Linked DNA regions of Homo sapiens: all the other regions are linked to region 1. The links are contacts of gene promoters, found by promoter capture Hi-C in blood cells and fetal thymus (Javierre and others, 2016). All regions are on one chromosome and are shown on one strand. The core of a region is centred on a gene start or on the middle of the fragment in contact, and the rest is flanking DNA. Distances in the headings are between cores, read along the strand shown.

Region 1 (6,342 bases), core at 2,893-5,392:
CCCTCAAATGGGAGTGTCTGATGACACCTGGGAGAACTGGGAGGCAGGGAGACCAGGACAGGTGAGCCCATTTCTGCCAATGGGCTGGTTTTTGTCCCCTCAGGCCAAACCCTTTCTTCAACCAGAGCAGCCAGGCAAGGCTTCCCAGGGCAGGGCAGAGCAGACCCTAATATGAGCTAGGTTCCCCTAGTGCTGATCAGTTTCCTGTATGTAGGGAAGGAAGAGGATGTCAGAGGCCCATGGGCCAGAGAGCTCACCCACTCTACCCTTGCTCCAGGTAGCGCCCCTCTTGGAAATCCCCGCCCCCAAACATCCTTCATCCCTGAGACTCTGGGCTTTTCCTTGCTCAGCGCCGCTCACCCTCTGCCTCTGTGCTGGAGGTGTCACAGTGGGTTCACACAGATCTAGCTCTGTCTCCCTCCAGTAGCCCCTCCGTGCTGGGCTTTGGCATAGGAAGTGTCAGGAAGCAGTCTTGGGTTGAGACTCAGGAAGCCCAGATCTGAGTCCTGGGTCCTCTGGCAACTTGTGTGTGAACTTGGGAAAGCTGTTGTCCTCTCTGAGCTGAGCTTTCTCTCCGTGGAAGATTTGGCCAGTCTCACGGCAGAGCTGGAGGAGAGCCCAGTCCTTGCCTATGCCTGCCCTCCCAATGCCCAGTCCTGGGGTGGGAGTCAGGGTTGGGAAGGGAGGATCAGGAAACTGGGTCCTAGTAGGAGCAGGGGAGAGGGGAGGCATGCCTTGCCTGGCTGGCTGAACCTGGAGGCCCCTCACCTCTGTGACTGTTGGCCTTATGCGAACAGCTTCTGTCTCTGTCCAGGGTGATAACCTGAGAGACTCATCCAGGATAATTCCCAGATCCAGAGAAGTGGGGCCAGAAGGTAGGAGGCCATCCACCTTGTCCCAAAGGTCTCCCTCTGCCACTTGTCTCAACCTGTCACAGCCCCCTTGCTTTATGTTATGGCCATTGTTTTGCTATTCCAAGGCTTCACCAAGTACCACTGGGGAAGACTCATCTTAAATGGGAATCATCTCTTCTCACCTCATTGGGTTTAGGATGCAGCCTGCAGCAGAGGGAAGAGGCCTGTGGGTCGGGGAGCAGCGGCTTTGCTCCAGGCCTATCCTTGCTTTTCTGCGTGTCTTGAGACAAGTCACCTCCCCTCTCTGGGCTTCGGCTTAATGAACTGTGGCTTGTGATTTCTACTCTAGGCTTTTGCTTACGTGGCTGCCTGTGACTCATGCCTTTTCACCCCACCTCTGCCAGTTTAAACTCTGCGCATTGTTTTTTCTTGACCCAACCAAGGTTCCTCCTCTTCTGGGAAGTCTTCCTTGATTAGACCAGAGGGCAAAGCCAGGCCAGCAGCCAGCCCAGCTTCTCCACTCACTGAAGGAGAGACAGAGGTTCCTAGAGGGTCAGGCCTCTGCTAAGGCACAAACAGTCCCCTCTTCCTTTCCTGTCTCCTGGTGGGAAGCTTCTGACTGCCGGATCCGATTCTCCTTGCACGAGGCCACATTTCCTCCCAGCTCTGCCCTCAGTTGTCCCTGGGGGGTGGGAGTGGGTTCGAGTCAGGTCACTCCACCAGCCTGCCAGGGCCAGAAGGCAGAGCCACCATCCCTGTCTCCCTGCAGCAAGTGAATCCCAGCCCCTCACACCTGTGAGGTTTTGCCAGGAGAAGCCTGCTTCTGCCTGGGCTCACCTTGCTCCCCAGCAGCTGTCTGAGGCCTCTCCAAGAGCCTCCTTGGCCCCCTTCTCATTCTGTCTTGCTCAATATGGGCAGATCTAGGAGAGTGGGAACCCTAGGGGCTCCTGCAGGGGCTGGGCCGGCACTGACCTTACAGCCCTTCACCCTCACCCCATGTTCCTGCCCTGATCCAGAGGGGAGTGCTGGGAGCAGGGAGCTGCTGGCCCCAGAACTGCTGAGACCCCCAATCCTTATCGCTCATTCCCACCTGCCAGCCTGGCCAGATCGGGGAGGGAAAGGAGGCTGGGCCCGGGCCAGGGTGGCGCTTAATGACCCTCCGGGGGCCTAATCTCAGACTGGCAGCCACGGAGTGGCTCAGGCGCGCTCCTGGAGAAGGCTGATAACGCACCAGCTGGGCCCCCACCATCTATCGCTGCACAGCCAGTCCCAGGGGCAGCCTCCCAGGGCCTGGGGAGGGGGAGCCTCTGGACTAGGGCGGGGCTGGAGGCGAGCTCTCCACCCCCAGCCCTGAGGGAGGGGATCCTGAGCTTCGTGATTGGCAGACAAGGGAGAGACCCAGCCTGCAGGAGGGGTGGGCTGGGCCTGGTGGGAACCTCCAGACACCTGTGCTCCTTCTCTCTTTCCTGCTCTCTTCCCAACCTTTTCTCCCCACGTAGGACCTCTCCTGCCCAGGCCTGTCTCCTCTTTGTCTCTCCCAGCCTCCATCCATCTCTGTCTCCCTGTTTCTCAGTCTCTCCACCTCTGTTTTTGTCTCATCCTCTGCCTCTCTCTCTCCTGTTTGCCTTTCTCCTCCTCCACCTGAGCTCAGTGCCCACCTCCTCTTTCTCTCTTGCATCCCTTTTCAGTTTCCAGCTGGTTCTCTTGGTTGTCCCCTTCCCAGCTGTCCCCTGCCTCCTAAGCTTCCTTGATGTCAACCCTTGGCCGGGCAGTTCCCACGATCTCATTGGTCTCACTTCTGTGTGTGGTATCATCTCTCTGTGGTCCCTTCCACCAGCTATCTGCCAGGATTGCAGGCTGCCTCAAGCCCTGGCTCTCAGCCCAGAATGTCCTCTTACTGTTGAGGACATTTTTGCTCTTCCTGGAACAGGGCTTGCACCTTGTTTTCCCCTCTCCCACCTAAAACATGTAAGTTTCATAGGGTTACATTATAGGTTATACCCAAACTCAGGCAGAAAAGAAAAGCCTCCACCCAGCAACTGCACAGTTGAGGGAAGACTGCAGCACTGCTTACTTCATTTAGACTTGAAGAGGAACTTCCAGCCAGGAGTTGGCTTTGAAAACAGGCTGTGGAGTTCCGTCTCCAGAGTGCCAGGTGGTCAAGGGGAGTTTCAAGATTACTGCCGTCATACTCAGAGTGACACATGCAGAAATACTATCTGTTTATTGTGCTTCAAGGATCCATTAGATCAGGACTATTGCTGGGCAAAGCCTCTTCCCGCAGCCTAGGGGTAGTAAAGGTGGGGGTAGAGGTGCTGGGGCTGGGGCCAGAATCACACACAGTCTGCTCTGGCCTCTACCCACCTTCACAGGGAAGTCAGGTGGCTGAAGCCAGCAGAACTTGCTCTGGGACCAGGGTGGAGGCACCTGCCTCCCATCCAGACCTGGCTGGAGGGTCTTGACTCCCTAGCTTGGCTCTCCTCCCAGGGTTTTTTTTTTTTTTTTTTTTTGTCCCTGGCAGTGCAGGGGTGGCCAAAAGCTTGAGCTTGGGAATCATGCCGATTGGTTCAAATTCCAGCCTGCTCCTCGATGCTTGTGGGATCGCCTAGCCTTTCAGATCTTCCATTCCTTTGCCGGTAAAATTGGCTCTATAGTACATTCCTTGCAGGGCTGCTGGGAGGAAACAGAGATGACATCCGTGTTATTATTGCTCCTGAGACTTGCCAGAAAGCCCTCCATGATCAGCGTAGATGCCATTTCTTCCCAGATGCTCCTTTCCCCACTCCTGGGTTCAGCACTTCCTCCGGGCAACTTCAGCCCCTGCTCCTCCCTCTCTTTGCACCCGCCCCACCTGCCCCACTCACTCCACCCACCCCAGGGTGCTGTCTACTTGTCTGCATCCTGCTCCTGCCCTGGGTCTGGGAGCTCCTCAAGGGCAGGAATGGAGTGACTTCCCTCTCTGTGCACCCAGGACAGGGCTGGACAGGAGAAGGGAAGCCCAAGGAGTGGTGAAGAGCCCCGAAGGAAGGGACTAAACTCCAGCCATCTGTCCCGCGGTGTCTGTTCATACTCCTCCTCCGTGCACGGGCTCAGACATACATATGCGCATATGCTCTGTCTCTTTCTGGTTGAAGGTCCTGGGAGCCCTCCGGAACTCTGCTGCCTGGCAGTCCTTCAGTTTCGGGAGCTTTTCTGTCTGCCCGTGGCCTCGGCTGCCACCTGGTGGCTGCACGCTCCAAAGGAAGCGTAGATTGATGAGAGCCTCGGAAGTTGAGCTTCAGGCGCGGCTCTTCCCCGTCACACTGGGACCGGACGCATTTCCATGGCGTGGTCCCAGGAACCTCTCAGGTCATGCCAGCAACTGGGACTTCCTGTGGAATGCAAGGGCAGTGGGGCCTCCGCGAGAGAGAGAGAGAGAGAGAGAGAGAGAAGAGAGAGATATTAAGGATGAATCCCAGTGTCTGCTCTGAGCAAATTGGAAGACGATGGCATCAGGGGCACTGCTCTGGGCTATATAGACTGTGCCTCCACTAAAGGGTCCCTGAGACCAGGTGTGGGCCCGTATCCCTGGAGGGAGAGGTAACTTCCTCTGATTCGAAGGCATCATATAGGCTAGTGAATGGCACTGAGAATGGCAGATGCCAGGGACAAGCAGGAGCATGTGTGGGATGAGGATGCGGCGTGGATGTGTGACGTTTCAGAGCCTGCAACACATCCGTAGGGAAGTCCTGGAGGAGCAGTTGGGTGCATGGTGGAGTTCTGAAACAGCTGGGCAGTCGGCACTTGAGCCAGAGATTCTGCTTTCGACCTGGATGCCCATTGAGAGGTTAAGAGCTCAGGTCTGGGTCAGGCAGCTTGGAAGCAGCACAGCTTGGACACTTGGTAGCCTGGGACTGTGGTTAAATCAACGTGACTCTCGGAGCTCCAGTTCACTGTAAATTAGGGCAGTAAATGATGTCTACATGATAAGTGGTGTTATGAATGTTAAACATTCACATGAAATACATAGAATAGTGCTTAGCATACAGTACACAATAACTGTTAGCTATTTGGAAAATTACTATTGTTATTATGATTATTTATTACAGAGTGAACTGAATTGGATGCAAGATCACGGTGCGTCAGAGCTAGCAAGATCCTTAGGATCATTTAGCCTGGTTTACTAATATTACACTATGGAATTTAAGCCCAAGGAATGGAGAGTACCCGACGAGCGTTATGTAAGGAGTCGAGTGAGAAGTAAGCTGGATGCTCTGCTTGGCTGGCAGGTACAGAATGTGCCAGACCCATCTGTACCAGCCTGGATCTCTTGAGGCATCAGCACAATGGACCTGGCCACACCAGTTTATTCCACACCGCTGAGGCTGGTACAGTTCTGGACATGGACTTTGTAAATAAATAACTGGGCCTTTGGTCAGTTCTAGCTGTGAGCTTGGAGGTATGGGGTGGGATGGTGAGGACAGGTGGGGGCAAAGTGAGGAAAGGGGCAGGGAGGAGAGGGGAGAGAGAAAAAGGGGAATGAGACAGGCTGAGCTAGTGAGCTGGAATTGGAGGTTGGGAACAGGCTTTCCTTGATGGTGGTGGTGCTGTTTTCTTTTTAATTTTAATTTAATTTTATTTTAAGTTCCAGGCTACATGTGCAGGATGTACAGGTTTGTTACATAGGTAAAAACATGGTGGTTTGCTGCAACTGTCAACCCATCACCTAGATATTAAGCCCAGCATGCATTAGCTATTTATCCTGATGCTCTCCCCACCCCTGCCCCAACAGGCCCCACTGTATGTTGTTCCCCTCTTTTTTGTTCACTTAAAAGATCCCACTTTTAAGTGAGAGTATGCAGTGTTTGGTTTTCTGTTCCTGTGTTACTTTGCTGAGGATAATGGCCTCCAGCTCCATCCATGTCCCTGCAAAGTACATGATCTCATTCCTTTTTATGTCTGCATAGTATTCCATGGTATATATGTACCATATTTTCCTTATCTAGTCTATCATTTATGGGCATTTGGGTTGATTCCATGTCTTTGCTACTGTGAATAGTGCTGCAATGAACATATGCTTGCATGTATCATTATTTTTTTATTTTTTTTGAGATGGAGTCTTACTCCCTCACCCAGGCTGGAGTGCAATGGTGCAATCTCTGCTCACTGCAACCTCCTCCTCCCGGGTTCAAGCAATTCTCGTGCCTCAGCCTCCCGAGTAGCTGGGACTACAGGTGCCTGCCACCACACCCGGCTAATTTTTTTGTTTTTTTGTATTTTTAGTAGAGACGGGGTTTTACCATGTTGTTCAGGCTGGTCTCGAACTCCTATCCTCAGATGATCCACCCTCCTGAGCTTCCCAAAGTGCTGGGATTACAGGCATGAGCAACCACACCCAGCCACATGTATCTTTATAATATAATGATTTATTCCTTTGGGTACACACCCAGCAATGGGATTGCTAGGTCAAATGCTATTTCTGGTTCTAGGTCTTTGAGGAATCACCACA
Region 2 (6,186 bases), core at 3,328-5,827, 190 kb before region 1:
CTAAGGCGGGTGGATCACCTGAGGTCAGGAGTTCGAGACCAGCCTGGCCAACATGGCAAAACCCCGTCTCTACTAAAAATACAAAAATTAACTAGGCATGGTGCACATGCCTGTAATCCCAGCTACTTGGGAGGCTGAGGCAGGAGAACTGCTTGAACCTGGGAGGTTGCAGTGAGCTAAGATCGTGCCACTGTACTCCAGCCTGGGCAACAGAGTGAGACTCTGTCTCAAAAAAATAAAATAAAATAAAACAACACAAAGGCTGCAGCAAGATTCTCCACCAGGGGCACATTTACAATTCAACCTAAGAACAGCCAACTTCTTTCAAGGTACTAACTACTTCAGGCTTTTTAATTAAATGATTCTGAGAAATGTATTTAGTTATTCAAAAGTATGTCTGGCTTCATTATTAGAACTACCAGAAAGAAAAGTACATTTTTTTACTTTTTTCAAGATCATTTCACTCTTAAGACAAATCAGGCTATCCTGTATGTTTCTTTTTTTTTTTCTTTTTTTTGAGACAGTCTTGCTCTGTCGCCCAGGCTGGAGTGCAGTGGTGCCATCTTGGCTCACTGCAACCTCTGCCTCCCAGGTTCAAGCAATTCTCCTGCCTCAGCCTCCCAAGTAGCTGGGATTACAGGCATATGCCACCATGCCAGGCTAATTTTTGTATTTTTAGTAGAGAAGGGGTTTCACCATGTTGGCCAGGCCGGTCTTGAACTCCTGACATAAGGTGATCGCCCACCTTGGCTTCCCAAACTGCTAGGATTACAAGCGTGAGCCACCGCACCCAGCCCTGTATGTTTCTTTAAAACAGAAAGTTTTCCCAACTTCTCAGAAACGTGTTTCTCTTCCAGTAAACAACACCCTAAGGCAAAATACTCTTTGATAATAATGTCTACCTAAGAAAGTAGTTCAGCTTCATTACCTAATATTATTATGTATGTCAATTCTTATTTTTTAAAAATCAAAACTGATTCTTGTTATTTTGAAAATAAAGGAAAATTTAGCTCCACAAGGCTGCTAATGCCAAATAGTTTTTAATACTCCAACAGCAAGACAGTGCTGTTCCGTCCATCCAATCTACCAATTCAAAAAACACTGCTGCCAATATAAAATATAAGTTAAAAAATCCTTTGTTTTTTCTAATAGTTGACTAACAGTTGCTTAAAGCCTATGTGGGCAGATGAAGATTTTCATTACCTCATTATTACAGTCAAAAAAGAGAACGAAAGATACATCTGCCTTCCCATCCATGGTCTTGTTCCATCCTTGAAGGTTGTCTTGATTTCTTGGAAACCCATCAATCAAGAATTTATTCTTCTGAGCATTGGCAGCCATTGTCTGATCCATTTCCTAAAGGAAAAAGAAGATTTAGGTTCAATACAACATTAACAAAATGAAATTTCTCAAGCATGGTAGTGTATACATGGGTGTTTTATTATTATTATTTAAACCATAAGTAAAGGGTGGAGGGTACATAGCAAAAAAAAAAAAGAAAAGAAAAAAAGAAAGAAAGAAAAAAGACTAGAAGGAAATCTATCAATGTATTAAGATGGTTGCCTCAAGTTGGTGTGGTTATGGGTATATGCCCCTCTCAAAACCACCTCATTTTATACACACAATTTTTTTCTGTGGTTTCCAAATTTTCTACAGTTAAGTATATGTTACTTTCACATACACATTCACAAAGTTATAAATAAACAATAAGAGCGGCAATAAGAGGAAAATAACCATTAACCATTATCTTTGCTCCAGCAACTGGAGACCCTCTCTTTATTCCCTTTGCTCTTCCCAAGTCGTTTTGCTATAGTGGAAAGTATATTACTTCTACAGGTGCTCAACTCTGCTATTCATATAATTCAAGTCCAACAACACAAAGCTTTGGACAAATATAAAAGACCATTAGCATTAATTATTAATGTAGGATAAAATACTTTTTAACGGAAGCTAATTAAACCCAAATGTCACTGGCTGCCCCAAAACAAAGGCAACAAAAGAACCAGCCCGGCCAAGATGGTGAAACCCCGTCTCTACTAAAAATACAAAAATTAGCTGGGCGTGGTGGCTGGCACCTGTAATCCCAGCTACTGGGGAGGCTGAGGCAGAGAAATGCTTGAACCCAGGAGGTGGAGGTTTCAGTAAGCCGAGATCGTGCCACAGCACTCCAGCCTGGCGGACAGAGTGAGAGACTCTGTCTCAAAAAAAAAAAAAAATAGGAAAAAAGAGGATGTGAACTAAGGTGATGACAGAGAAGAGACTAACAGAAGAGGATTAAAAGAAAAATAACTGGAAAGATATGCTCACTGAATGGATTTGGGAAAGTGAGGAAGAGGCAGGAGAATATAGGATGATTCCCAGATTTATGCCTTGAGTAGCTAGGTAGATGGCAGAACCATTAACCAAGACAGGAAGTAAAGGAAGATCACATTTTAGACAATACACTCAGCCTCTGACATGTTGATTTTGAGACACTTGTGAGACATTCAAATAAAGGCCTAGTAGTTAGGTAGTTAAAAATATATGTCTGGAATTCAAAACAAACATTTTGTTTTAGAGCTATAGACTTTAGCAGCATGAGCATAGTGAAAGCTTTGGGTATGGCTAAAACCATCCAGAAAGAAACATATGAAATGAGAGCTGAATAAGACCAAGTATAAAACCCTGAGAAGCATCATGGTTTTGGAAACTTGCAAAAGAATAACTATTAAAGAGGATAGAGAAATAGCAGTCACTCAGTAGGGAGAGAAGAAAAAGAGACGCTGTCATAAAGAACAAAGGAGGAATGATTTTCAAACAGACTGATTAAAGTTAAATACTACAAGAAAAATAATGACAAAAGTATTATTTGATAGAGATCATCATTGGTAACATGCAAGAGCAGCTGCAATGGAGATGGAAACAGAATCTGACTGCAAAGGGTTGAAAAGTAGAGAGTGGAAAAGTAGAGAGTGAAAAAGTAAAAACCATATGCTCTTTCATAATACTTTCTCTGCTTTATAGAGCAGAGAAAGGACATTAGAAAGAGTGAATAGGGAGAGAGATTTGTTTATTTTGGAATGGAAGCAGGTTACTCCAACCTCTGAGACAAGAGGTAAGAATGTGTGTACAAGCCACTTTTCATCCCCAATGTCTTTAGTTCCAACCAGATGCTTACATAGCTCTTTTCCATCAGGCTTCAGCCATTTCTTGTTGTTCCCAATATTGCATTTCTTTTTCTCCCTCACTGTTCTTCTATGTGAAAATACCTGTTAATGATTATAGTTCTAGGAATCTAGAATGAAGAGTTACCTAGTAAATACAGGGTGTCTGTTTTTCAGATGTGACATTTATTTATTTATTTATTTATTTTTTGAGGCGGAATCTCACCCTGTTGCCCAGGCTGGAGTACAATGGTGCGATCCTGGCTCACTGCAACCTCCGCCTCTGCCTCCTTGGTTCAAGCAATTCTCCTGCCTCAGCCTCCCGAGCAGCTGGGATTACAGGTGCCTGCCACCACGGCCGACTAATTTTTTTTTTTTTTTTTTTGTATTTTTAGTAGAGATGGGGTTTCACCATGTTGGCCATGTTGGTCTTGAACTCCTGACCTCGTAATTCACCCACCTTGGCCTCTTAAAGTTCTGGGATTACAGGCGTGAGCCACCACACCCGGACATTTTTTTTTTTTTAAGAAACAGAGTTTCACTCTGTCACCCAACCTGGAGTGCAGTAGCATGATCTTGGCTCACCAAAACCTCTGCCTCCCAGGTTCATGCGATTCTTCTGCCTCAGCCTCCCAAGTAACTGGGATTACAGGTGTGTGCCACCACACTTGGCTAATTTTTTATATTTTTTGGTAGAGACGGGGTTTCACCATGTTGGCCAGACTGGTCTCGAACTCCTGACCTCAAGTGATCCCCCTGCCTCGGCCTCCCAAAGTGCTGGGATTACAGGCGTGAGCCACTGCGCCCAGCCTCAGATGTGACATATTTTAGTTTTAAAAGTTCTTAAGTCTTAGCATTTCACATTGAAGATGGTGATACACCAGAAAAGTAGACACCATGGCTGAGCGAACATCAATGATGAGAGGGACGTGGGTTAAAAAACAGAGAAAGGGCTGGGCATGGTGTCTCACGCCTGTAATCCCAGCACTTTGGGAGGCCCAAGCGGGTGGATCGTGAGGTCAGGAGATGGAGACCATCCTGGCTAACACGGTGAAACCCCGTCTCTACTAAAAAATACACAAAAAATTATCCAGGCTTGATGGCGGGCGCCTGTACTCCCAGCTACTCGGAAGGCTGAGACAGGAGAATGGCGTGAACCCAGGAGGCGGAGCTTGCAGTGAGCCGAGTTCACGCCACTGCACTCCAGCCTGGGCGACAGAGCGAAACTCCGTCTCCCCGCCAAAAAAAAAAAAAAAAAGAGAGAGAAAGAAGAAAGAAAGAGGTTTATTTAAAAAAAAAAAAATTGGGGGCCGGGCACGGTGGCTCACACCTCTAATCCCAGCACTTTGGGAGGCTGAGGCAGGCAGATCATGAGGTCAAGAGATCGAGACCATCATGGCCAACATGGTGAAACCCTATCTCTATTAAAAATACAAAAATTAGCTGGGCATGGTGGTGCACGCCTGTAGTCCCAGCTACTCGGGAGGCTGAGACAGGAGAATCTCTTGAACCCGGGAGGCAGAGGTTGCAGTGAGCCGAGATCGCGCCACTACACTCCAGCCTGGCGACAGAGCGAGACTCTATCTCAAAAAAAAAAGAAAGCAAGCAAAAAAGAAAAAAGGAAAGGGAGCAGGAGAGGGAGGAAAAAAGATGAAACAGAAATGGAAGAGAATAACTGTCTGAATGTTGGGAAGAAAGGACCAAGTGCACATAAATGGATGTTAAGTTGAGCTATAGGTGATCCTAAATCAAAGCAGAGAATCCTTGCCACTGTCCGCTTTCTTCCCAGGTGAAAGCAAAGTTTCCAGTTCTGCCATTCTCAAGCATAACCACCTTCCACAAGCAAGAAATTCAATACTCTGAGCTAGGTGTGGTGGCTCTCTCCTGTAATCCCAGCACTTTGGGAGGCCGAGGTGAGAGGATCACTTGAGCCCAGGAGTTCCAGCCTAGCCTACACAACATAGTGAGACCCTGTCTCCACAAAAAATAGAAAAAAATTAGCTAGGTGTGGTGGCATGCACCTGTAGTCCCAGCTATTCAGGAGGCTGAGGTGGGAAGATGGCTTAAGCCTGGAAGGTTGAGGCTGCAGCAAGCTGTGATCAGGACACTGCACACCAGCGTGGGTGACAAAGACACTGTCTCAAAACAAAACAAAACAAAAAATCTTTGATATTTTTCATTACACATATGAAAGGTGGATTTATTTTTATTATTATTGTTGTTTATTTATTTATTTTTGAGAGGAGGTCTCACTATGTTTCCCAGGCTGGACTTGAACTTCTGGGGTCAAGCAATCCTTCTGCCTCTGTCTCACAAGCAGCTGGGACTACAGGCATATGCCACCACGCATGGCTTTTTAAAAAATTTTTTTGTAGAGATGGGGTTTCACTAGGTTGTCCAGGCTGGTCTTGAATTCCTGGCCTCAAGTGATCCTCTTGCTTTGGCTTCCCAAAATGCTGGGATCACAAGCATGAGCAACTGCCTGGCCAAAAGGTGAATTTAATTTCTTCTTTCCTCGCTGGTTTGAACTGGTTGGCATTCACACTCCTTACCCTCTTTAATAAACTGATGGTTATCTCAACTGGTACAATCTTTCCTTCTTTAATGTACTTTTCAATAAGTTCACCATACTGTGAATCTGGGTTCTTCCTTTCATCACGAAGCAGCTCTCCTGCAGAAAGGTGTGTGTAGCCATATTTCTGAAAGAAGCACACATAGGAAAAATATCAGAATTCATTCAACCCAGTGGTAGGACTATACTTTTTTTCCTTTGTGTTAATTTCTATATTCTAATTTTTCTACAATAAAGAAGTTTTGCTTGTATATTAAATAATAAAGAAAAATTTAAGATATTTCCCATAATCCAGTTTGCTTAATGGATATCTTTATTCTTCATAGCTATAATGTTCAGATAAATATATCCTGGCTGGGCGTAGTGGCTCACACCTGTAATCCCAACAATTTGGGAGGCTGAGGTGGGTGGATCATGAGGTCAGGAGTTTGAGACCAGCCTGAACATGGTGAAACCCCATCTCTCTAAAAA
Region 3 (6,679 bases), core at 3,799-6,298, 220 kb before region 1:
TTACTATTTGCATCTTTTGAATTTGGAATCATGTGAATTACGTAACCTACTCAAAAATTATTTAATTACAATTTCAAAAAAAAAAAACTACAAGAATGCATACATCCTCTAACTAGGAAAAAATGTTAATTTCAAAAACCATCCCCAATTTACAGATGAGAGAACAGAAGGTCACAGCTGTGGAAGGAGCCCAGAGTTACCCAGCTAGAAGATGGCTCCAATGCAGTACATATCCAGATATAGCAATTCCTGAGTGTGTTTGAAGAATTAAGTTTGCAAATTACTGCCTCCCTACAGACACATTACCATTTCATAGATGCAAAAACTGAGAACACCCAAATTTAGAACGCACCTCCCTCACCACTTTCCCCACTCCGAGCCTAGCACCTCTTCTCTCACCACCCCACCAGGCCAACAGGCATAGTCTCTACAACAGTCTGTTAAGGCAAGGATCACCTAGACTGTCCCTGTGAGGCCCAGGGAGGACAGTCACTCACCCCAAGCCCCTCAGCGGTGCATATATCTCTCAAAAGACTGTAATTCAAGAAAGAGTCCAGAACCTCGGGCGGGAGGAAGGAAGGGCCCTCCCAGAGGCAGGGAGCAACATCTGGAACGGTTTGTGCCTTTGGAGCAGGCGTGCAGTCATTAGTAGGGCTTTGGCATGTTAGGGGCAATAACTGCATATTTTCTCTAGGGTGCATTGTGAGCCTCCTTTGCTCAAAATGTAATGAGTATGTCTCCTATCAGGGGAGGAGGGATGTTTGCACTCCTCCCTGGCCTGCCTGGGCTGCTCTCCTGCCTTCTGGTTGGCCTTAGGCTCACCCGCCTTCCTGTTTTTAGAAGCGTCAGACAGCCCTAGACCAGCCGCTAGATGTCACAGCCAGTTTGGCTTCCCTGATAGGACCTGGGACCAGTGGGGCACCCTGATGGAGAAAGAATCATTTGCTCCAGTGTTCCTCTGTGGTCAAGAGCCACTTCTTTTCATCTATCTGCACTCAAAGACTCCACCCAGGGGATTTTCCAAGCTTAAAAAATGGAGAAGTATTTTGTTGTTGTTGTTCCCTGGAAGTTTCATGGGGGAAAAATACAAATAAGTTCAAGAAGAGTAGAGATGAACCTGCAGCTTCCTCTCTTGTGTCCCTTCCCCTCCCACCCAGGCTGTTGCTTTCTGTCATTCTCCTTTGGGCCCTTACAAAGGTAGGTTCTTCCGCTTGTAATACCTTTCCTTTTCTCTCTGTGCTCACCCCTGTCTGAAAAACTCAGCCATCTTCTCCAGGAAGCCTTCCAAGCAGGGATAAGTCCTCTGATTTCCCCACAGTGCCTGTGCTTCTCTCTGTCACAGCCATCATCACCCACGGTACTGAATCCTTTCTTACCTTTCTCCCCAACCTAACTATATGAGTCTTGAGAACTGGAGAAGTGATTGTTTCTCTAGCAAGATTGCCAGTGTCCAGCATAGGGCCAGGGACAGAATAACATGCACAGTAAATGCCAAGTAACTGATTGACTAATTGACTGAATGAATAAATGAACAAATACGGTAATAAAGTGTCAGAGATGAAAGAGGACAGGATGGGACCCCATCATCTTACAGCTAAGGAAACCGAGGCTTAGAGAAAGGGAGAAGGTATCATCAGGAAGGAATTGACAGAATACCAACTCAAACTAACTTAAGAAAAATGTTGGCCGGGCACAGTGGCTCACACCTGTAATCCCAGCACTTTGGGAGGCGAAGGTGGGCGGATCACCTGAGGTCAGGAGTTCAAGACTAGCCTGACCAACATGGAGAAACCCCATCTGTACTAAAAATACAAAATTAGCCGAGCGTGGCGGCATGCACCTGTAATCCCAGCTACTCAGGAGGCTGAGGCAGGAGAATCGCTTGAACCCAGGAGGCGGAGGTTGCGGTGAGCCAAGATCGTGCCGTTGCACTCCAGCCTGGGTGACAGAGCAAAACTCCGTCTCAAAAAAAAAAAAAAAAGAAAAAAAGAAAAGAAAAAGAAAGAAAAGAAAAATGTAGTGAGGAAATGTATTGGCTCATAAATCAGGGCAAGGATGAAACTGGACTTCAAAATGTGTGAAACCCAGTGTTTGAAAGTCCTCTTCATGTCATCTTCACTCTCAGAGGCCACTTTCTTTACAAGGTTGGGGTCTGGCTGTTGGCAGTAACAAGCCCCTCTCCTTAGAGTTCTGCAAATGAAGATACAAGAGCTGCGGTTGAAACAAGGCCCCAGAGAAGGATTCTGAGTGGCCCAATGTGGACCCATGCTCACCCCTTGACAAAACACTGTGGAGTATGGCAGCTCCCAACTAGAGGAGGAGCAATTCTCCCAAACACGTGGGAATCATAGCTATGACCCTTGGGGAAACCACTGTGAGCGGGACAGCCACCCAATTTAAATCTACTAGGGTCACCAGCATTTCTTGAATAACTCTGTACTCAACCCATGTTAGATATTTTCATACCCATTGTCTTACAATAACTCTGTGAGTTAGATATCATTACTCCCATTTTACAGATGAGAAAACTGAAGTTCAGAGGCGGTAAGTAATTGGGCCAAAGTCCTGGAGAGTTATGGAACCCAACAGGACACTTAGTCCCATCCTCCTCTGTGTACAGATGAAGAAACTGCAGCCCCAAGATGGTAGAGACTTGCCTGAAGTCGCAGAGTAGGTCAGTAGGATAGTCTAGGAATTAGAAGTCGTATGAGCATTTTGTCACACTATATTATACGTGTGTAATGGGCATCTTTGGGATATCTGCTCTGCTCCTATTTCCCTTCTTTCAGAACAGCCCACTCACCAATCCACATGACTATGAGAAATGACCCCCAGAGGTGTAGCCTAGCAGCCATGTTTGTTTTATGTGACCCCATGCCACTACCCAAAGCTGATTGGGCCAGGGTTGGACATGTGGTTCCGTTACACCAGTCGCCTCCTCTCTTGGGAATTTGGAGATTGTTTTTACATGGCTGGACCTGTCAGGTGCTGTCAGCAGTCATGTTTTCCTCCATGTGATCTGATTGGTGGAGAAGGTCAGTCCGGGAAGAGAAAAGAGCACAGAGGCAGGGAGAAACTCCCATTTCCTGGGCTCCTGAGAGCTTTCCCAAGTCTGGGCCAAGTCCTTTTATGTGTTTGGTTCCTTTAGACTTCCAGTTCCCTTGTAATCACTTCCCCTTTCTTTGTCTGAATTGATTCTAGTGGATTTCTTATGAAAATAGCATCCTAAGATAGCATGTAGCAAAGTACCTTTACTAGAAAGGGTGCTGTTGTGTGAAACCATATCGGTACTTCAGCCATCTGAGATGATCAGATGAGGAGGCCAGTGTGGGCCAGAGTGGTTGGGAAGGCTTCTCTGTAGCAAGCAGGACCGCTGTGTCCTTGAGGTGATGCAAGGGAGGCTGACTTGAAGGAGCTGAATGTGCGGCCAGGCAGGGAGGTGAAGCAGTAAACAAGAAAGAGTTCTTCTGGTCAAAGCCATCCAAGGTGTCAAGTGTGTATAGGGAGGGACTGGGAGGCATTAACTCATGGAGGGGTGTCCCAGGGGTGGTTACAAACCAAATCATTACAGTGAAAGCAGTTATGTCCCCACCATATGCTCTAGCCTGACCCTGACATCAGAGGCTTTGCCATTTCCTGAACTTGTACCACACTATCCCACCTTTGTGCCTTTCTTCATGCAGTTCTATCTGCCTAGGAGCCCTTCCATCCTACCTCAGCCCAGATCAAAGTCTGCCTAATCCCTAAAGCCTTGCCCTAGCCCAAAGGGAAAATAAGCTCTCTTCTTTCAGGTTCCCACTATCGCGTAGTTTATATTATAATTACCTGTGCACGTACCTGTTTCCCCCACTAGAATGTGAGCCCTGAGGCCAGAACTCTGATCTGATTCATCTGCTTCTCTATTGCCTAAAGCTAGGGCTGGCCCCTGCATAGGTGAAAATTTGCTCAATGCCTGAGTGTGTCCACTGTCCATGCTAACCATGGGAAAAAGTAATATACTTGCTGCCTCCTTATCAACCTCCTACCCCACCTATCAATAAGTAAAGAGAGAAAGATTTGAGGAGCCGGGAGTCCATCCTCCCATGGTGGGGGGTGGAGTTGGGAGCTGTGTGTGGCTCTGCATGTGTGTTACATGTGTGTATGTGTATGTATGGGTATGTGCAGGAGCTCTCTCTAGGTTGTAGTCAAGGAGGGCTTCCCCCAGAGGGAGGCCATGGGCAGAACCACAGGGCCTAGCTGTGTCTGCCACCCCCTGCTCCAACTCTTCATTCTAGTGGCATGGTCTTATATGCCAACAGGCATCAGGCCTGGAGGCTGATGGGAGATTTAGTTAATTGCAACAAAGCCAAGCGTCCTGGGGCACAGTAGAGATCAGTCTAATCTGTCAAATTATGCCCCTTAAAGATCCTGTTAACCTTTGTTAACCTGCAGTTGTACATTTAGGATGATTAGATGCTTCCCTTTCTCATACAGCTCTTCATGCTTACACAGGGCCAGGAGAGAGAACGGAGTGGCCAGGTAAAAGGAGGCTGGATGTTAAAAGGTTTGACGAAGAAGAAGGGAGCAGAAAATGAGCTGGCACTTATTGAATATCTGCAGGTTCCAGCTCTGACAAACATTTCACTTGTACCTCCCAACCAGCCTAGGAGCTAGTTATCGCTTCTTTATCTTAGAGATAAGGAAGCAAGTACTCCAGCGCCAAGGTGGCTTGCTCCAGAGCACATATCTTGAACATGGCACAGTGGGCACTTGACCCCGTTTGCAGATGGTTGCCCTCTGCCTGGAGTCCCATCACCTTTAAAGGGCCTAGAAGTCACAATCTGAGCTTCTCCAGCATCTTTTCCTCCCAGAGCTTTGTGGCTCCAAACCCTCATCACCCTAAACTCCAATCCTCTCACAAGCAGCTCTTCAGAGTAACTCACAACAGTGTTCCTGGCTACAGTCAGACCACTGTCATTACACCTGCTACTTCCCTACCTAGCATTTATCAACATGCATCATTCAGTTGCTCAGTCCTGTGGGTGACTGTCTGATGTCTGCTTCTACTGTCAGACCACAAGTTCCTTGAGGGCGTGGGCTTTATATTTTTCATTGCTCTATCCTCATTAGTTCATTCACTGAACAAACATTTATTGCCCACTATGTGACAGACATTGTACTAGGTGTTTGGGATACAACAGAGAGAGAGACGACAGAAAATCCCTGCCCTCTGGAGTTTGACCCCTAGAAGAGAGAAATAGACATTAAGCAAGATAAATAAGCAAATTTTGCAGTGTATTGTTTTGGATGGTCATAAGCAATATGGACAGAAATAAAGTAGGAGAGTATACTAGAGAAGGAGGGGGTCCAATTTTATGTAGGAAAGTCAGAAAGGGCTTTGGAAGAGGTTAGAGAGGGAGCCATGTAGATACACACAAAAAGCATTCCAGGCAGTGGGAATACAGTGGGATAGTACTAAGGTGTGGAGGCGGGAGAGGATCTGGTGTTTTCCAGGAACAGCAAGGAGACCCGTGTGGCTTGAGCAGAGTGAGCGAAGGGCAGGACATGAGAGTCCTGCGGAGCACTGTAAGGGTTATGCCTTTACTCTGATTTGGGAAGGCACTGGAGAGTGACAGAGGAGTAACATGATCTGGTTTAGGTTTTCAAAGGATCATTCTGCCTACTGTGTTAAGAATTGATAGTCAAGCTGGGTACAGTGGCTCACGCCTGTAATCCCAGCACTTTGGGAGGCTGATGCTGGAGAAGTGCTTGAGCTTAGGAACAGCCTGGGCAACATAGTGAAACCCCATCTCTACAAAGAATTTAAAAATTAGCTGGGCATGAGAGACTGAGGCAGGAGGATCGCTTGAGCCTAGGGGTTCAAGGCTGCAGTGAACTATGATCATGCCACTGCACTCAGCCTCGGTGACAGAGTGAGACCCCATCTCTTTTAAAAAATGGAAAAAAATATAATTGATAGTCTCTGATGCACATTAGGTATTTAATAGTTTTGAATAAATGAATGAATTGCACGTAGGAGAGTGACAGGAAAGAAAGAAAGAAATTGCTATGGAGGGAAGATAAACCCAGAGGACACTTATAACCTTGATGCCCAGTGATCTGAGTCTAGTTTTAAGGAGCTGAAAGAGGACAGATTTCTGCTGAGCAGAGCGTGAATCTTCTAGCTGTCCTTGTATCTCAGTAAATGTCCCAGGAGATCTAAACTCCTCGTCATGGAAGATGTACAAGTCAGGACAGGATGGCCTCAGGAAAACCTATAAGCTATGGCTTTCTACAGCTAGGAATAGCCTGTGTCCCCCAACCTCCCCTCCAGTCTTTTACCTCAGATTTTGTAAGTGATAGGACTCAGAGATGTTTCTGTCTCCTGCTAAAGGACCTCCACCTGACCTTCAGAGTTGTGAGTCTTCTTGGTACATGACAGAGGAGACCCAGGAAGCAGGCCTGCAAGGACACCTTGGCTGTGGAGCATTAGGAACAATATTTGGCTGGGACCGGGAGGCTATCCAGGGTAGCGGGCACTCTGTGGCCAGAGTTCTGGATTACAGGGAGCCAAGGCCAAGGCAGACCAGAAATTCCCTGCCTTGATTTTTGCCTCTAATTCCTCCCAGAAATGAGGCGTGTCCGTCTTCAAACTCTCGGGTTTTTATGAGGCGATTATGGTGATTACTGTAAATCTCCT
Region 4 (6,919 bases), core at 1,949-4,448, 170 kb before region 1:
TAGTTTTGGACTAGCTTATCAGCCTTTTTAATCTCTGCACCATAGGCAATAGAAAGCATACTGGATGTTCTATTGTACAAGATGTAAGATCTCCTCAAAATTTAAAACATTTTACTTTAAAGAAATACCACTACCAAGAAAATAAAAGACAGCCCACAGGATGGGAGAAAATGTTTATAAATCATACATCTGGATTAGGGGCTTATCTTTGAAATATATAAACTCTTACAGCTCGATAAGAAGATATATAACCCAATTAAAAGACATCTTTTTATTTTTATTTATTTACTTTTTTGAGATGAAATCTCACTCTGTTGCCCAGGCTGGAGTGCAGTGGCGCAATCTCAGCTCACTGCAACCTCCGCCTCCTGGGTTCAAGCAATTCTCCTGCCTCAGCCTCCCTAGTAGCTGGGATTACGGATGTGCAACACCATGCCCAGCTCATTTTTTGTATTTTTAGTAGAGACAGGGTTTCACTACGTTGGTCAGGCTGGTCATCAACTCCTGACCTCAAATGATCCACCTGCCTTAGCCTCCCAAAGTGCTGGGATTACAGGTGTAAGCCATTACACCCGGCCAAAGACAATTTTTTAAATGCACTATTCTGAGGAGAAAAAAAAACAAAAAACCCTTCACACCTACTAGAATGGCTATAATTTTAAAAACAACAACAAAAACAAAAAAAATAAACATTGGTGAAGATGTGGAGAAACTGGAACCTTTGTATACTGCTGGTGGATATGTAAAATGGTGCAGCTCCTGTGGAAAATAGTTTAGTGGTTCCTTAACAAGTTAAACACAAAATTACCATGTGACTCAGCAATTCCATTTCTATGTATATACCCCAAAGAACTGAAAACAGACTCAAACAGATACTTGAACACCAATCACTGCAGTATTATTCACAGTAACCAAAGGTGGAAACAACCTAAGTGTCCATCAACAGATGAATGACTAAGCACAATGTGCTGCATACATATAATGGAACATTATTGAGCCATAAAAAGGAAGTTCTGATACATGCTAACATGGAGGAAGCTTAAAAACATTATGGGCCAGGCGCAGTGGCTCACACCTGTAATCCCAGCACTTTGGGAGCTCGAGGCAGGTGGATCACAAGGTCAGGAGATCGAGACCACCCTGGCTAACACAGTGAAACCCCATCTCTAATAAAAATACAAAAATTTAGCCAGGCGTGGTGGCATGTGCTTGTAGTCCCAGCTACTTGGGAGGCTGAGGCAGAATCATTGAATCTGGGAGGCGGAGGTTGCAGTGAGCTGAGATCGTGCCACTGAACTCCACCCTGGGCAACAAAGCGAGACTCCGTCACAAACAAACAAACAAACAAACAAAAATTATGTTAAGTAAAATAAGCCAGACACAAAATGACAAGTATCATATAATTCTACTTATATGAGGTACCTAAAATAGGCAAACTCGTAGAGACAGTAGATTAGAACTTACCAGGAGCTAGGGAAGGGTGGGGGATCTGTATTTTCCAATTTTTCTTTTCTTTTTTTTTTTTTGAGACAGTCTCACTTTGTCGCCCAGGCTGGAGTGCAGTGGCGTGATCTCGGCTCAATGCAACCTCTGCCCTCCCGGGTTCAGGCAATTCTCCTGCCTCAGCCTCCTGAGTAGCTAGGATTACAGGTGCGTGCCACCACGCCTGGCTAATTTTTTCTTTTCTTTTTTTGCATTTTTAGTAGAGACGGTGTTTCACCATGTTGATCAGGCTGGTCTCGAACTCCTGACCTCGTGATTCGCCCACCTCAGCCTCCCAAAGTGCTGGGATTACGGGCATAAGCCACGGCACCTGGCCTGTATTTTCCAATTTTTCTATAATGTACGCACACTCTACTTTAAATAAGAGCAACCAAAATAGCTGGGCACAGTGGCTCATGCCTGTAATCTCAGCACTTTGAGAGGCTAAGACAGGCAGATCACTTGAGCCCAAGAGTTCAAGACCAGCCTAGGTAACATGGTGAAACCCCACCTCTACCAAAACAACACCCCCTCCCCAACCTCAACCCATAAATTGGCCCCAAGTAGCTGGGACTACAAGCTTGTGCCTGTAGGCTGAGGTGGGAGAATCACCTGAGCCCGAAAAGTAGAGGCTTCAATGAGCCATGATCATGTCACTGCACTCCAGCCTGGTGACAGCGCAAGGTCCTGTCTCAAGAAAAAAAAACAGTAGGTGGAGCATGGTGGCTCACACCTGTAATTCCAGCACTTTGGGAGGCTGAGGCAGGCAGACTGTTTGAACCCAGTAGTTCGAGACCATCCCGGGCAAGACAGTGAGACCCTGTTTCTATATAAATAATAATAAGGCTGAGCAAGATGGCTCATGCCTATAATCCCAGCACTTTGGGAGGCCGAGGTGGGCGGATCACTTGAGGTCAGGAGTTTTAGACCAGCCTGGCCAACATGGCGAAACTCCATCTATACTAAAAATACAAAAAATTAGCTGGGCGTGGTGGCGCGTGCCTGTAATCCCAGCTACTTAGGAAGCTGAGACAGGAGAATCACTTGAACCGGGAGGCGGAGATTGCAGTGAGCCGAGATTGCGCCACTGCACTCCAGCCTGGTCAACAGAGCGAGACCCTGTCTCAAAAAAAGAAAAATTAGAAAGTTGGGCAACAGAACAAGACCCTGTCTCCAAAACAAACAAACAAACAAACAAACAAGAACATTTAGAAAGTTGGCCCTAATAGCACATTTCTTAAAATTTTTTAATTAAAAATACACACAAGCAACTGTTACATTTCAAAAAGCTTTCCTTTTCTCAACTTTATAGGTGCAATGTTACCACTGTGAAGTTCTAGATGAACATGAAATAAAGGAATTTATTAAACATAATTCCTTGGTGCTCCAACTCGTACGCTACAGAATAGCAAAGAAGGCACACATATTCATAGTAACTGGATATTTTGCCTTTTGGGTGTGACTATATTGGGTTATATGCTATCTAACACAGAAGTTTTGAGGTACAGATCTGTTTTGGAGCTGGTAAGACCATCTACTCCTCTATACGCTTCGTTTTACAAAAGGGGAAATTGAGATAAGCTGACTTGCCAGTTACTGGAAAGAAATCTGGCACTTGAATCCAGGTCTCCTCACTCTCAATAACTCTATTATTCCACAACAGGCCTCTGAGGTAATTCCTAGGTGACCCATATGGAGATGCAGTCTTTCGTCTTCAAGCTACTATGGCCATTGAATAACAGAATCTACTGGTGGGAGTTAAAGAAGAAACTCAAAGTTGATCATTTTGTTATGTCCTGGCTTGCAGATGAGATCAGAAACTTTATCCACACACAGAAAGCTAGGCATATTTGACCCACCTTGATTCAGCCTGATTCTGACCATCCTTCTTGCTTCCTTTGCTTCCTCCTTGCCTTTCCCCACTTCTGAAACATTACCATTTCCACTTTTCACTTCCCTTGCCCTTCAAATGATACATAGCAAGGAAAAACTCTATTTGAAAACCTAAATTAACCATTAAGTCAACACCCAATTATACAATCAAAACATCTTTGCTGTCTCTATACTCCCAGTAGGCACCAAGAAAATGAAAATTCATGTTATTACCTAACTAAATCATACATAATTATACAGGTAAAGCTTGTGGGTTAAATTAAACATGTAACATTTTCCAATACCAATCAATGACTAACACATTCTGGAAGCTCCAAACACAAAGTGGGTATGGAAACAGACTTTTGTGTAGCCCCAAATTAGGCATATTCAATTGCTTGTTGACATAGGATACATTCCAACGGGGAATGGAACCAGCTTATGGGTCTTCTGGAGAAGACTGATGGAAACCAGGCATGGAAGAACATGTTTCATAGGACCCAGTCCCTCAAAGTGAAGGCCTCTGAGACTAGTAAGTAACAACTGGTGCTTTTTCCTTTACCAAAGTGATGGTTTGTTAACTTTACGCACCAGGCAGCATAAAACTGTCAGCAAACAGTATGTCTGTCACACCTGTTCCCTATTAAAGTTCTAAATGCTCTTATCACATGTTTAGTCTGTAAAAATGTTCTTAATTTGTCAGATTAAAGCAACTAAAATGTAAGAGCAAACACATTTTCATATGGCAATTGGGCTAAAAGTATTAGCTTTAAGGTAGTAAGAATCAGTGTGACTAGGCCAACATGAAACAAAAAAATAAGACATCAAAATATATGTGCTGTCTCTATACTCCCAGCAGAGTCCCCATCCTTTCTCTCTCTTACCTGGACAAAAAGTCCCACTACTAGATTGATTTCTCTAATCCTCTGGATTTCAATTCAGAAAGCTACCCGTTAAAATACTGTACTCCTACGTGACTTTTGGAGGTCTTCAGTGATTACAATCCTTTTGCATTAGCATCTAAACTGGAATGTGGTACAGCAAATTCACAATAGTGCCCTGGGTTTAATTTTTTAAAGGAAACACAGCAATAGTCAATGTGACACTAAGTGAACACAAGATAGTTAATTTTCAACTTAAGATCATGGACCGGGCACGATGGCTCACACCTGTAATCCCAGCACTGTGGGAGACTGAGACAGGCAGATCACTTGAAGTCAGATGCTCGAGACCACCCTGGCCAACATGGTGAAATGCCGTCTCTACTAATAATAAACAAAAATTAGCCAGGCATGGTAACGGCGCATGCCTGTAGTCCTAGCTACTCGGGAGGCTGAGGCAGGAGATTCGCTTGAACCTGGGAGACACAGGTTGCAGTGAGCTGAGATTGCACCACTGCACTCCAGCCTGGATGACAGAGTGACACTCTGTCTCAACAACAACAAAAACCAAAAACAACAACAACAAAAAGATCATGGCACATTCCTTTCAATTACATCATATCTTTGTGAGGCTGATTTTATGGGCTATTGCTGTGATAAAAACAAGTATCACATGAAAATTAATGTGGGACAGGCACAGCAGCTCATGCCCGTAATCTCGGCATTTGGGGAGGCCGAGGCAGGAGGATGGCTTGAGGCCAGGAGTTCAAGACCAGCCTGGGCAACATAATGAAACCTCTCTCTACAAGAATTTTAAACATTAGAGAGGTATGGTGTGATGTGCCTGTAGTCCCAGCTACTCATGAGGCTGAGGTGGGAGGATGGCCTGAGTCCAGGAGTTGGAGGCTGCAATGAGCTATGATTGTGCCACTGCACTCCAGCCTGGGCAACAAAGTGAATGAATGAGAGAATGAATGAATAGAAGGAAGGAAAAAAGGAAAGAAGGAAGGAAGGAAAGAAGAAAGGAAGGAAGAAAGGGAGGGAGGGAGGGAAGGAGGGAAGAAAGGAGGAACAGAAGGAGGAAGGGAAAGAAAGAAAATAAAAAAATAAAATAGGCCGGGCACAATGGCTCATGCCTATAATCCCAAGACTTTGGGAGGCCGAGGCGGGTGGATCATCTGAGGTTAGGAGTTCAAGACCAGCCTGGCCAACGCGGTGAAACCCGTCTCTACTAAAAATACAAAAATTAGCCGGGTATGGTGGCGGGCGCCTGTAATCCCAGTTATTTGGGAGGCTAAGGCAGGAGAATCACTTGGGGAAGGGAAGGGAAGGGGAGGAGAGGGGAGAGGAGTGAGGAGGAGAGATGGGGAGGGGGAGAGGAAGGCAAACAAACGGGCCGGGCACGGTGGCTCATGCCTGTAATCCCAGCATTTTGGGAGGCCAAGGCAGGCAATCACCTGAGGTCTGAGGTTCGAGACCAGCCTGGCCAACATGGTGAAACCCCGTCTCTACTAAAAATATAAAAAGTAGCCAGGCATGGTGGCGCACACCTGTAGTGCCAGTTACTTGGGAGGATGAGGCAGGACAATTGCTTGAACCCAGGAGGCCGAGGTTGCAGTGAGTTGAGATCGCACCATTGCACTCAAGCCTGGGCGCCAGAGTGAAACTCCGACTCAAAAAAGAAAAAAAAAAGAGAGAGAGAAAGAAAAGAGACAGGGAGATAAAATTAATAAGAAATGCAGGTGGAAGTGTCCAATATGATTCCAGCGTATGAGAAACAGTACACAACAGGCATATACATTTCATTAGTAAGTGTGGTTACTTAAGAATGAAATTAGGCTGGGCGCAGTAGCTCATGCCTGGGAGCCACTTTGGGAGGCCAGCACTTTGGGAGGCTGAGGCTGGCGGATCACGAGGTCATGAGTTCGAGACCAGCCTGGCCAACATGGTAAAACCCCGTCTCTACTAACAAAACAAAAATTAGCCGGGCGTGGTGGCGGGCACCTGTAGTCCCAGCTACTCAGGAGGCTGAGGCAGGAGAATCTCTTGAACCCGGGAGGCAGAGGTTGCAGTGAGCCAAGATGGAGCCACTGCACTCCAGCCTGGGTGACAGAGTGAGACTCTGTCTCAAAAACAAAACAAAACAAAAAAAAGGCCAGGCATTGTGGCTCACACCTCTAATCCCAGCACTTTAGTAGGCCAAGGTGGGTGGATCACCTGAGGTCAGGAGTCCAACCAACATGGTGAATCCCCATCTCTACCAAAAATACAAAATTAGCTGGGCATGGTGGCACATGCCTGTAATCCCAACTGCTTAGGAGGCTGAGGCAGGAGAATTGCTTGAACCTGGGAGGTGGAGGTTGCAGTGAGCCAAGATCAAGCCATTGCACTCCAGCCTGGACAACAAGAGGGAAACTCCATCTCAAAAGAAAAAAAAAAAGGCCAGGTGCAGTGGCTCATGCCTATAATCCCAGCACTTTGGGAGGCCGAGGTGGGGGGATCACGAGGTCAGGAGATTGACTAAAAATACAAAAAATTAGCCGGGCGTGGTGGTGGGCACCTGTAGTCCCAGCTACTTAGGAGGCTGAGGCAGGAGAACGGTGTGAACCCAGGAGGTGGAGCTTGCAGTGAGCCAAGATCGTGCCACTGCACTCCAGCCTGGGCAACAGAGTGAGACTCTGTCT

The links. The method cuts DNA at HindIII sites, captures the fragments that hold promoters and counts their contacts. A CHiCAGO score of 5 or more calls a contact.
Region 2: a fragment that was not itself captured here is called in contact with the fragment with the promoter of LINC00853 in region 1 in 1 of 17 cell types (megakaryocytes); the score reaches 5.3 in megakaryocytes.
Region 3: a fragment that was not itself captured here is called in contact with the fragment with the promoter of LINC00853 in region 1 in 1 of 17 cell types (megakaryocytes); the score reaches 6.5 in megakaryocytes.
Region 4: a fragment that was not itself captured here is called in contact with the fragment with the promoter of LINC00853 in region 1 in 2 of 17 cell types (megakaryocytes and erythroblasts); the score reaches 9.3 in megakaryocytes.

Annotation. Positions count from the first base shown.
Region 1 is chr1:47,177,050-47,183,391 of GRCh38, reverse strand. It overlaps LINC00853 (long intergenic non-protein coding RNA 853), which reads right to left and starts at 4,142. Exons shown (of 2, transcript NR_047498.1): 1 at 3,954-4,142; 2 at 3,053-3,524. It overlaps CYP4A22-AS1 (CYP4A22 antisense RNA 1), which reads left to right and starts at 3,769. Exons shown (of 6, transcript NR_199717.1): 1 at 3,769-4,202; 2 at 4,943-5,267; 3 at 6,323-6,342. RefSeq lists a cis regulatory region at 2,064-2,081 and enhancers at 2,000-2,144, 3,770-4,271. The HindIII fragment of the contact is 3,617 bases long and covers 3,396-6,342 here.
Region 2 is chr1:47,368,125-47,374,310 of GRCh38, reverse strand. It overlaps CMPK1 (cytidine/uridine monophosphate kinase 1), which reads right to left. Exons shown (of 6, transcript NM_016308.3): 2 at 5,696-5,842; 3 at 1,204-1,356. Among named protein-coding and RNA genes, the nearest start is that of CMPK1, 37 kb to the right of the region's middle. The HindIII fragment of the contact is 3,965 bases long and covers 2,595-6,186 here.
Region 3 is chr1:47,400,006-47,406,684 of GRCh38, reverse strand. All of the region lies in intron 3 of LINC01389 (long intergenic non-protein coding RNA 1389), which reads left to right. Among named protein-coding and RNA genes, the nearest start is that of FOXE3, 13 kb to the left of the region's middle. The HindIII fragment of the contact is 8,041 bases long and covers 1,028-6,679 here.
Region 4 is chr1:47,345,513-47,352,431 of GRCh38, reverse strand. All of the region lies in intron 1 of CMPK1 (cytidine/uridine monophosphate kinase 1), which reads right to left. Among named protein-coding and RNA genes, the nearest start is that of CMPK1, 15 kb to the right of the region's middle. The HindIII fragment of the contact is 850 bases long and covers 2,774-3,623 here.